Regions from separate parts of the Homo sapiens genome. Here all the other regions are linked to region 1. Evidence: promoter capture Hi-C in human tissues and cell types (Jung and others, 2019). All regions are on one chromosome and are shown on one strand. Each heading gives the region's core, a stretch centred on a gene start or on the middle of the fragment in contact. The rest is flanking DNA. Distances are from core to core; before and after follow the strand shown.

The links. Contacts are between HindIII fragments. The study calls those that stand out against the background at their distance.
Region 2: a fragment that was not itself captured here is called in contact with the fragment with the promoter of SOX12 in region 1 in 1 of the 25 tissues and cell types used here (lymphoblastoid cells).
Region 3: a contact is called between a fragment that was not itself captured here and the fragment with the promoter of SOX12 in region 1, in 2 of the 25 tissues and cell types used here (pancreas and spleen).

The regions. Positions count from the first base shown.
Region 1 is chr20:323,531-327,069 of GRCh38, reverse strand. It overlaps SOX12 (SRY-box transcription factor 12), which reads right to left and starts at 1,518. Exons shown (of 1, transcript NM_006943.4): 1 at 1-1,518. The coding sequence starts at 1,145. The coding sequence ends at 198. It overlaps NRSN2-AS1 (NRSN2 antisense RNA 1), which reads left to right and starts at 1,818. Exons shown (of 3, transcript NR_109990.1): 1 at 1,818-1,928. RefSeq lists silencers at 389-878, 899-958, 1,029-1,408, 1,519-1,828, 2,389-2,648 and 1 more. The HindIII fragment of the contact is 5,512 bases long and covers 1-2,844 here.
Region 2 is chr20:193,521-197,211 of GRCh38, reverse strand. No RefSeq gene overlaps it. Among named protein-coding and RNA genes, the nearest start is that of DEFB128, 5.7 kb to the right of the region's middle. The HindIII fragment of the contact is 6,858 bases long and covers 1-3,691 here.
Region 3 is chr20:516,215-519,794 of GRCh38, reverse strand. All of the region lies in intron 2 of CSNK2A1 (casein kinase 2 alpha 1), which reads left to right. Among named protein-coding and RNA genes, the nearest start is that of CSNK2A1, 26 kb to the left of the region's middle. The HindIII fragment of the contact is 4,623 bases long and covers 1-3,580 here.

The DNA of each region.
Region 1 (3,539 bases), core at 269-2,768:
GGGTGGGGGTTGGGCTGCCTTGGGGTGTGTCTGCGGGGGAGGGGCATGTCTGGATCTGAGGGGGGATGGGCACGTCCAGGAGGGGGCAGGCTGCGCGGGAGATGGGGTGCCAGCCTCGGCCTCCGAGGGGCCCCAATACCTGATTCCTGTATGTAAACAGCTGGTTTGGGGGCGTGCGCGCCCCGCTGACGGTGGGCTCAGTAGGTGAAAACCAGGTCTGCGATGCTAGACGGGCGCCAGTCCCCCGCGATCATCTCGGTAACCTCGGGGGTGCAGTAGTCCGGGAACTCGAAGTGCGACGTGCCCGAGGGAGGCTGCAGGTCCGGGTCGCGATCCAGGGCGCTGCAGTCCAGGCCGGCCGGGCCAGGGGGCAGCCTGGACAGAAAGCCCAGCGACTCCTCCCCCGACGCCACCGTCTCCTCTTCACCTTCCTCAGCCGCTGCCGCCTCCTCCTCCTCTTCCTCCGGCTCCTCGTCCTCCGACGGTGTCGGGGAGGCGGCGGCGGCGGCGGCCGCCCCCTCGCCCGACGGCCCTTGGGCGCGCTCCGCTTGTCCCCGAGCGGCCCGTCCCGCCGGGACCATCCTCCACAGCTCCCGCCCCGGGGTCTCGACCAGGCGCACTTCCAGCAGCTCCTCGTCGTCGTCTTCATCGTCGTCCTCGGGCGCCGCCGCCCCGCCCCCCAAAGGCCCTCCCGCTGCTCGGCGGCCCCCGCGGCCAGGCAGCTGCGGCCCGGGCTTGAGCCGGCTGCCGCCACCGCTACCACCGGGGGGGCGGGGCCGCGCCTTGGCGGGCGCCCCCTTGCTCTTTTTGCGCGGCCGGTACTTGTAGTCCGGGTAATCCGCCATGTGCTTGAGCCGCAGCCGCTCCGCCTCCCGCACGAACGGGATCTTCTCCGAGTCCTGCAGCAGCTGCCAGCGGCGGCCCAGGCGCTTGGAGATCTCGGCGTTGTGCATGTCGGGCCACTGGTCCATGATCTTCCGCCGTTCGTGCTGCGACCACACCATGAATGCGTTCATCGGCCTCTTGATGTGGCCGCTCGGGGTCTTGCACCAGCCGGGCTCGCGCGCCCCCTCCTCGGCCGGCCCGGGTCCCGGGGGCGGCGGCCCGCCGTCCCGCTTGGCCCTCGCGCCCCGCTGCTGCACCATCGCGCCTGGGCCCGGGGCCGCTAGACGCCGCCGGGGGCCGTCCGCATCCTCCGCGGCTGGGGGTGGGGGAGGAGGCAGCGGCGACGGAGGGGCGGCCCCGCCCCGCGGCTCGGCCCGGCCCCCGCGAACTGGGGAGCGAGGAGCTGGGCGCTCGGGCCCAACGGACGGCGGGGGGAGAAGGTCAGCGCGGTCTCAGGCGGGCTCGGCGCGCCCCCGCCGCCTCCGGCAAGTTGCGTCCTGGCTCACAACACACATTGTTTTGCGGGGGCCGAGGAATCGCACCCTCCGGGCCCCCGCGGGCTCTTCCTGCAGCCTCTGGCTCCGCCGCGGCCCGCGCGCGCCGCTCCCCGCCCGGCCGCCGACGCCTTTCAGTGTCTTTCTCCCCGCGCGGCCCCGCCGGCGCGCGCACCACCCCTCCCCCTCGCCGTCTGCGGGCCGCTGCGGCGCGCGCGGGGCCGCCCCGTGTAAACACCGAGGTGCCCGCTTGGGCTGCGGCCGGGCCCCGCCTCGCGCTCGGGCGCCGCGTCACCCGTTGCTGGGCAGAGAAGCCGGTATTTGCATCTCCCAATCGCTGGCCGCCGGAGCGGGGCGGGGCTCGGGCTGCGGGGCTGGGCGGTCTCGCGGCTAGGATTGGGGGAGACCGGCGAGATCGGTTTCTTTTCTTAGGTTAGGGGTTGGAGGAAGGGTAGGGGACGCGAGCCTGCTTCCATCTGACGCTGGACGCTTGTCCCTGCCCCGCGTTGCCTTTTAAATTTTAGCTCATTCCGAGACACCTGCCGTCAGGTAGGATTTCCGCCCTTTCCTCTTTCAGGGACGTCTTTTCGGACCATCCCAGAAGAGAATTTGGGGGGCCCAAGACTCAGGAAAGCTTCTTAAGGGGACGAACTCAGGTTGTCGTAGATGTTGCCCCCCGCCTACTACACACAGGGTCCGACCACATATGGGACCAGCAAATGCTTTTGGACCTAGTGAACAAATCCCTTTCTCATATATATGTATATTTAATCTCGTTCGAAGCTCCATAAGAATCCGGAGGGAGAAGGGAATATGATAATATGATGCCCAGTTTCCAAATAGGAAGCACCGAGGACACGCAGACTAGGATTCGATTCCCAGGCTCGCGGTCCCAGCTGTCTCTCCCCTGCTCAGCACCAAGGGCCGCGGGGCACCTCGCCTGCCAGCCAAAGGTCCTGAGCTGGGCGGACTTCCCGCTTTTCACAAACCGCAGGCGACATTCGAGGATGCGTGGGTGCGCCATTCCCAGGTCCTACCCCACCCCGTAGCCTGCCCGGTGCCCGACTTGGGCGCGTCGCCCCACCCAAGCCTGGAGAAGCGTGCAGGGGCACGGGGCGGAGCCAGTCCTGGGGGCGTGGCCGGGTGGCCGGCACGAGGCGCGTGGCGGGGAGGGGCCGCGCGCTCCCGGCTCACCACGTGTGAGCCAGTTCGGGCACCACTGGGCGTGTGCCGCCCCTGGGGGAGGTCACCTTCACGGCGTCGTGAGCATGGGCGATGGGAGGGGGCGCTGAGGCCTCGCCCTTGGGAAGCAGGAGCTGGGAGGTGCCCGGATTAGGGTCTTTAAGGTGGCATTCCGCTGGGGCGTAGCGGGCATGGTTTGGGGCTAGGAGAATGCGCCTCTGGCGGTACAGCTCACCCACTTCTGGACGAGCGAAGGCCAAGAGCCGAGCTTGAGGGTGTGGGGCGGGGAGGAAGGACCGAGGTGCGGCTCCGCGGCGCGGGGGGCGGGGTGGGGGTGGTGGGGAGAAAGAAATTGGAGCATCCCTGGAGGGAGGGGGCGACTCTTAAAGGCACAGGGTGCTTGGAAGAGGAGGCCCTGCTCCCGTCCAAACGGTCCCTCCGCCTTTCAGAAGCTGAGATCTGGAAAAGCCTACGTGTAAAACCTTTACATCTGCAGCCTGAGCAGTCTACCCGATGGAGTCACACTTCCTGAGTTCACATTCCCAGTCCCTCCTTTTCCTTATCCTGAAAATGGGGATAATTCAGTTTCTCCCTCACATGGTGGTTTTACAGATTAAATGAGATAATGCATGTAAACACATCCTGATACCTAGGCAATGTTCAATAAAACTTATGATAGACGGGACGCGGTGGCTCACACCTGTAATCCCAGCACTTTGGGAAGCCAAGGCGGGCGGATCATTTGAGGTCAGAAGTTCGAGATCCGCCTGGCCGATATGGTGAAACCTTGTCTCTACTAAAAGTACAAAATAATGAGTCAGGCTTGGTGACGCGTACCTGTAATCCCAGCTACTCAGGAGACTGAGGTATGAGAATCGCTTGAACCTAGGAGGCGGATGTTGCAGTGAGCCGCTGCACTCCAGCCTGAGTGACAGAGTGAGACCCTGTCTAAAAAAAAACTAAAAGTTTTGAGAAACT
Region 2 (3,691 bases), core at 1,191-3,690, 130 kb after region 1:
GCAAAGTCGCAGGATACAAAATCAATGTGCAAAAATCACTAGCATTCTTATACACCTATAACCTTCAACACAAGAGCCAAATCATGAAGGAACTCCCAGTCACAATTGCCACAAAAAGAATAAAATACATAGGAATACAGCTTACAAGGGAAGTGAAAGATTTCTACCTACAAGGGGAACTAAAAAGTGCTGCTCAAAGAAACCAGAGATGACACAAACAAATGAAAAAACATTCCATGCTCATTGGTAGGAAGAATCAATATCACTAAAATGGCCATACTGCCCAAAGCAATTTATAGACTCAATGCTATTCCCATTTAACTACCACTGACATTCTTTGCAGAAGTAGAAAAATCTATGTTAAAATTTATATGGAACCAAAAAGGAGCCTGAATAACCAAGGCAATTCTAAGCAAAAAGAACAAAGTTGGAGACACCACACTACCCAACTTCAAACTGTACTACAGGGCCACAGTAACCAAAACAGCATGACACTGGTACAAGAACAGACACATAGATCAGTGGAACAGAATAGAGATCCCAGAAATAAGACTGTACACCTACAACTATGTGATCTTTGACAAACCTGACAAAAACAAGCAATGGGGAACGCTTTTCAAAACAAGATATATACTCGGCTAAGAAGCATTTGAAAGAAAAAAAAAGATCAACATCACTTATCATTAGAGAAATGCAAATCAAAACCACAATGAGATACTATCTCACACCAGTCAGAATAGCTATTATTAAAAAGTGAAAAAATAACAGATGCTGGCGAGGTTGTGGAGAAAAGGGAATGCTTTTAGACTGCTGGTGGGAGTGTAAATTAGTTCAGCCATTGTGGAAAACAGTTTGGCAATTTCTCAAAGAACTTAAAACAGAATTACCATACGACCCAGCAATTCCATTATTGGGTATATAGCCAAAGGAATATAAATCATTCCACCATAAAGACACATGCACGTGTATGTTCATTGCAGCACTATTCACAATGGCAAAGACACGGAATCAACCTAAATGCCCATCAATGGTACACTGGATAAATAAAATATGGTACATATACACCATCGAATACTACACAGCCATAAAAAATGAAATCATGTTTTTTGCAGGGACATGGATGGAGCTGGAGGCCTGTATCCCAAGTGAGTTAACACAGGAACAGAAAACCAAATACCACGTGTTCTCACTTATAATGGGAGCTAAACATTGAGTCCACCTGGACACAAAAAAGGAAACAAACACCGGGGCCTACTTGAGGTAGGAGGAGGGTGGGAATCAACAAACTACCTATCAGGTACTATGCTTATTACCTGGGTGATGAAATAACCTGTACACCAAATCCCTGTGACATACAATTTACCTATGTGACTAACCTGCACATGTTCTCCTGAACCTAAAATAAAAGCTAAAAAAATTCATACACAGACACACACACACACACACACACACACACACACACACACGAATGGGATTAGTGTTACAAATACAAATGGAAAGAGCTGTGGGGGTTCAAAATAGTAATTAATCAAGTCTATCAGAGGAGTTAGGAAGACATCACAGAGGAGGTCTTATTTTTATCTGAGCCTTAAAAGACAAGAAGGATTTTCTGGGAGGTTTTGAGATTTGGAAAGAAACAATGCAGAATTTGAGGAAAAACATCAGCAGGACTGGTGCTGACAAATACACCTTTGTATCCTGGGTGAAATATGCTACTGGAGTTCTGCTAGAGTGTATCTATCAGACGTAGGAAAAAATGTTGTAGAAGATGGACATCTACTTGGAGAGGAAATTCCCTCTTATTTGATGGTCTTGAACATGGAGGCAGTGGGAGTGGGGTTGAGAAGCTTCCAGAGCACCATACTTGGCTGAAGTAAAGGTTTAGAACAGTCAAATATCTCATCTTTCTTGATTCTAGTTAGAAAAAGCTAAAAGAAATCCCATACACTAATCTGGAGTCCAACTTCTTAGTTCTTATTGTGCACTAAGGTGGCAAACGATTTCCTGCATAGCTGGACTTATATTCATCTAATCCTTGGGTTATCTCTGTTTAATTTATTTAGAAATGGAACCAACTCCCTTACAGCAATGAGTAAAATTGAATTACAGAACAAGGGAGCAGTTGGCTGTCCTCCAAAATTGTAGCTTTGATGGTGGTCTTTAAACCCACAGGTGATTCAGTTAGCACTTTTCTTCTTGTATTTATTAACAGGAACTTAATACCTGTTTTTTGAATAAGTATTTCCTTGATCCACAGACCCTCAGCAAGAAAGACTTAGAAAATTAAAACAAAAACAAAAACAAAAAAACAAGCCAGGCGTGGTGGCTCATGCCTGTAATCCCAGCACTTTGGGAGGTTGAGGTGGGTGGATCTCCTGAGGTCAGGAGTTCAAGACCAGACTGGCCAACGTGGTGAAACCCCATCTCTACTAAAAATACAAAAATTAGCTGGGCATGATGGTGCACGCCTGTAATCCCAGCCACTGCACCTAGCCCTTAATAAATATTCACACATCTGATCTTCGTGCGGCTAAATTTCCTGCACCCATTAACTTAGCTGTCTTCATATGATAAATATGATTTGATGAGATTCTGTAAGCCTCACCAATCTTTATTTTCTGTGCCACTCCAGGATTACAAGGTATACAGCTACTAACTGAGGGGGATAAGGGCTCTGGTTACTGGTATCCATAGTAAGCTATATACAATACTAATTCCTAACCTTACTCTTTCCCTGACTATGTTGTGATAAGAGTTTAATCATCAACGGCTACTTCTACAGCTTTCAGAAATTCCAACATTCTTCCAGATACTGTCACAGAAAGATATTTGGATTAGATGGGACCTCATTACTATAATTAGGTGCCTAGAAATTGCAAAAAGTGGTAAACAGCATTTTTAAAGGAAATGCCATAATTAACTTTATTGCTGTGTTGGAGTATTTTATCTAGCAGTAATTTGTTCAGTACTTTTCAGCCATTCAGTGATTATGTATTGAGCATATAGCATGAATTTTGTGCTATGAGTTAAGAACTCCTAGTCGAGGAGGCTTTGGAAAAGGGAAAAACTGGGCAAATCGAATGCCTAATAGGGCTTGCTTCCAGTGCGGTCTACAAGGACACTTTAAAAAAGATTGTCCAAGTAGAAATAAGCCACCCTCTCATCCATGCCCCTTATGTCAAGGGAATCACTGGAAGGCCCACTGCCCCAGGGGACGAAGGTCCTCTGAGTCAGAAGCCACTAACCAGATGATCCAGCAGAAGGACTGAGGGTGCCCAGGGCAAGCTCCAGCCCATGCCATCACCCTCACAGAGTCCCGGGTATGCTTGACCATTGAGAGCCAGGAGGCTAACTGTCTCCTGGACACTGGCGCAGCCTTCTCAGTCTTACTGTCCTGTCCCGGACAACTGTCCTCCAGATCTGTCACTATCCAAGGGGTCCTAGGACAGCCAGTCACTAGATACTTCTCCCAGCCACTAAGTTGTGACTGGGGAACTTTATACTTTTCACATGCTTTTCTAATTATGCCTGAAAGCCCCACTCCCTTGTTAGGGAGAGACATTCTAGCGAAAGCAGGGGCCATTATACACCTGAACATAGGAGAAAGAACACCCGTTTATTGTCCCCCTGCTTGAGGAAGGAATTAATCCTGAAGTCTGGGCAACAGAAGGACAACATGGACGAGCAAAGA
Region 3 (3,580 bases), core at 377-2,876, 190 kb before region 1:
TTTTGCTCTTTATTTTTTCTTTCAACTCAGACCTTCCAAAATGGGATTATTTTTCTTTTTTCTTTAGAGACATTTGCTTGATAACAGAATTTTAATTTGGCGGCTATTTATTTTTTTCAGCACACTGCAGGTATTAAACTACTTGGCTTCATTGTTGGTTTTGAAAAATCAGCTGTTCTAATGTTGCTCTTTGAATATAATCTGCCTTTTTCTGTACTTGCTTGTCTTTAGTTTTTTGTTTTTGTTTGAGACAAGGTCTTGCTGTTTTGCCCAGGCTGGCCTCCAACTCCTGGGCACAAGCAATCTTCCTGTATCAGCCTCCCAAATAGCTGGGACTATAGGCCTGTGCCATTACACCCAACTCATCTTTGTTTTTTCCTGCTATTTTGTAATTATATGTTTGGTTTTGGATTTCTTTTTATTGATCTTGTTTGGAAATTGTTTGCTTCTGGAATTTGATTGTGTCTGATTGCTTCTGGGATATTTTCAACTGTCTTCAGTTACTGCCTTTATCCCATTCTCTTTTCTGCTAGTACCAATTAAAAGTATATCAAACTGGCTGGGCACGGTGGCTTACGCCTATAATCACAGCACTTTGGGAGGCCAAGATGGGCGGGTCACTTGAGGTCAGAAGTTCAAGACCAGCCTGGCCAAAACATGGCAAAACCCCCTCACTACTAAAAATACAAAAATTAGCCGGGCATGGTGGCATGCACCTGTAGTCCCAGCTACTCTGGAGGCTGAGGCAGGAGAATCACTTGAACCTGGGAGGCAGAGGTTGCAATGAACTGAGATCGTGCCACTGCACTCTAACCTGGGTGGCAGAACAAGACTTTGTGGCAAAAAAAAAAAAAAAAAAAAGTATATCCAACGATTTCACTATATTTTTCCTCTTGTTTTTTGAGATCTGCTAGGACATTGTATTTAAAAATAAATAATTGGCTGGGTGCGGTGGCTCACACCTGTAATCCCAGCACTTTGGGAGGCCAAGGCGGGTGGATCACGAGGTCAGGAGATCGAGACCGTCCTGGCTAACACGGTGAAACCCCGTCTTTACTTAAAAAAAAAAAAAAAAAAAAAATTAGCCGGGCGTGGTGGCGGACTCCTGTAGTCCCAGCTACTCGGGAGGCTGAGGCAGGAGAATGGCGTGAACCCAGGAAGCAGAGCTTGCAGTGAGCTGAGATCAGGCCACTGTACTCCAGCCTGGGTGACAGAGCGAGACTCTGTCTCAAAAAAATAAAAAATAATAAAAATAAAAATAGATATTTGTAGTGATCATTTGAGGCCCACAGTAAGGTACTTTCCTCCATGGAGAGCTTGCTTATATCAGGTATGCATGGGCACTAATCCAGAGACCACCTTAAAACAAGCTTAAGATATGATATTCCCTTCAGTAGGGCTTTAATTCCTCCCTGGATCTTCCACTCCCTAGTCACTCTCACCATTAGGAAGTATGCCTCTGAAGTCCCACCTTATGAAGAGGGCCTCCTATTAGACTTTTTGTCTTGTGAGAGCCCTGGGCTTTGGTTTATGTGAGAACAAAATTCTAATTTTCAGGATCAACAAAGGCTTTCCAGGCTTCCTTGCTTGCTTATATCTCTGGGTTTGCATTTTCTATTCCCTTTTGGCTATAATTACTTCTCTGTCTTATTTAAAGATGAGTGGGCCAGGTGTGGTGACACATGCCTGTAGCCTCAGTTACTTGGGAGGCTGAGGTGGGAGGATTACTTGAGCCCAGGAATTTGAAGTGGCAGTGAGCTACGATTGTGCCACTGCACTCCAGCTTGGGCAACAAGGAACTGATTAGTGTTGGAAGTAGAGAAAAGAAAATAAAGAGAAAGAATTCCAAAGCTTGTGAATTAATGATACTGTTTGTTTTAAGCACAAAATGGTAACAGTCGAGTAAACTAATAGTCTCCAAATCAGATATAAAAAGGTTGCTGACCTGATGTGCAAAAAAAGCACATCAGGTGCTTTTTTACACCTGATGCCACGTTGCATGTGGCATCCAATGATGTGTTTCTTATAGAAGATAACAAAATGTGCCAGCCTTTGGTCATTTTAGGGTGCAAAATTATAGGTCTTTAAAATTCTTAACTTGCTTTAAAGTGTTACGCTTTGCAATTTCTTGTTTTAATGTTTTCCATCTGAATAATTCCTGTGCGTACTTTAAGTGCAGTTTTTTTTTTCTCTTACAGTTTTTCCCCATTTTAGGTACTCCATAAATATTTGTTGAATGAATGATGGGTTGGTGATAGTTTAAATACCCTTCAACGTCTGTACACCACCATGACTTAATTGTTTCAAGCACTGATCACTTGAGATTGTAATGGTCTGTTTTCTTTGTCTGAGGGCAGAGATACTTTCTCCAGGACCAAGAGAAAGAATGCCTTTCTGGCAGTCAGGCACACATTTCCTGGTACATAGTAAACGTTCAGTAAATGCTTGATGTATGAGCATTCTGCTCTTGATTGGAAAGGAAGAAAGAAATTAAGGTTAAGTATGGACATTTGAAATAAGTAATTCAGGTAACATTAGCTACTTGTGCTTTTTTGTATTAAGTTGGCCTTCTAATCAGTGCCCCTTTTGTAAAGGGAAATGGGCAAGTTTGACTGAATTTTTCTCTTTGCTTCTGTAGCAAGGTAGAAAAGTATACATATTTAAGGTCTCGCTGAGTTCCACAAGTCTTGTTTGTCTCTTACCAGTTTATGTTGCCTGATTGCTTGGAAAAAGAGTTCATTCTCTGCAGCAGTGCATAAAAGGTGTCTTCCTGTATAGCTGCTTTTCCTCTAAACAAGCAGTCCTAAACCATGCAGTCAGTGCAATCTAAGCACATTCCTCATTCTTTGCTATAGAAATCTTTGTCCTGTCGGGATGATGATGAGATCTTGTTCATTTGCTATGGTTCATTTAGGGATGAGAAGGAGATTTTTTTTTTCCTTTTAAGATGGAGACTAATAAACATTAGGGTTAAAAAGAACTAATTATATTACAGTTCAAAAATTGACTTAAAGTTCTAGAATGATCTTTTCCATTTCTGATACTAGGAAATTCATCAATAAAAATACATTAGCAGAAATGACTAAGCAAACTTGTTTGTATAGTTTTCTGGTATTGGACTGTTACTAAGCCTCTAGTTTTCTTTTTAGTTGCCAAATTGAAAAATAACAACTGAACATAAGAGATTAGAAGGAGGGACTAGCTAAGGGCAAGAGGAGTTTTTATTGAAATTAATTCTGCTGTATTCAGTGTATATCAGTAAACTTATGATTTTGGCAATGGACAATTTTTCCTTATGGTTTAATGGCATTTTCTTTTTATTTACTTATACTTTATTAAAGAATAGGTCATGCAGACCCATGCAGTTGGCTTCGATGTGATCTTACTTCAGTCGGGAAAAATTCATTGACATGATACTTTTTTCGTAGCTGATTAATTGGCTTCTGTTAGGCTAAACGTTGAGCATACAAGACCTAGCCATGTCTTCAAAGTCATTCTGACGGTGTTAAGGTAGATGTAGTGGTCTGAAATGGTTAGCCACTAAAGTTACACCTCCTTTTATGCAATTACATGAGAACAG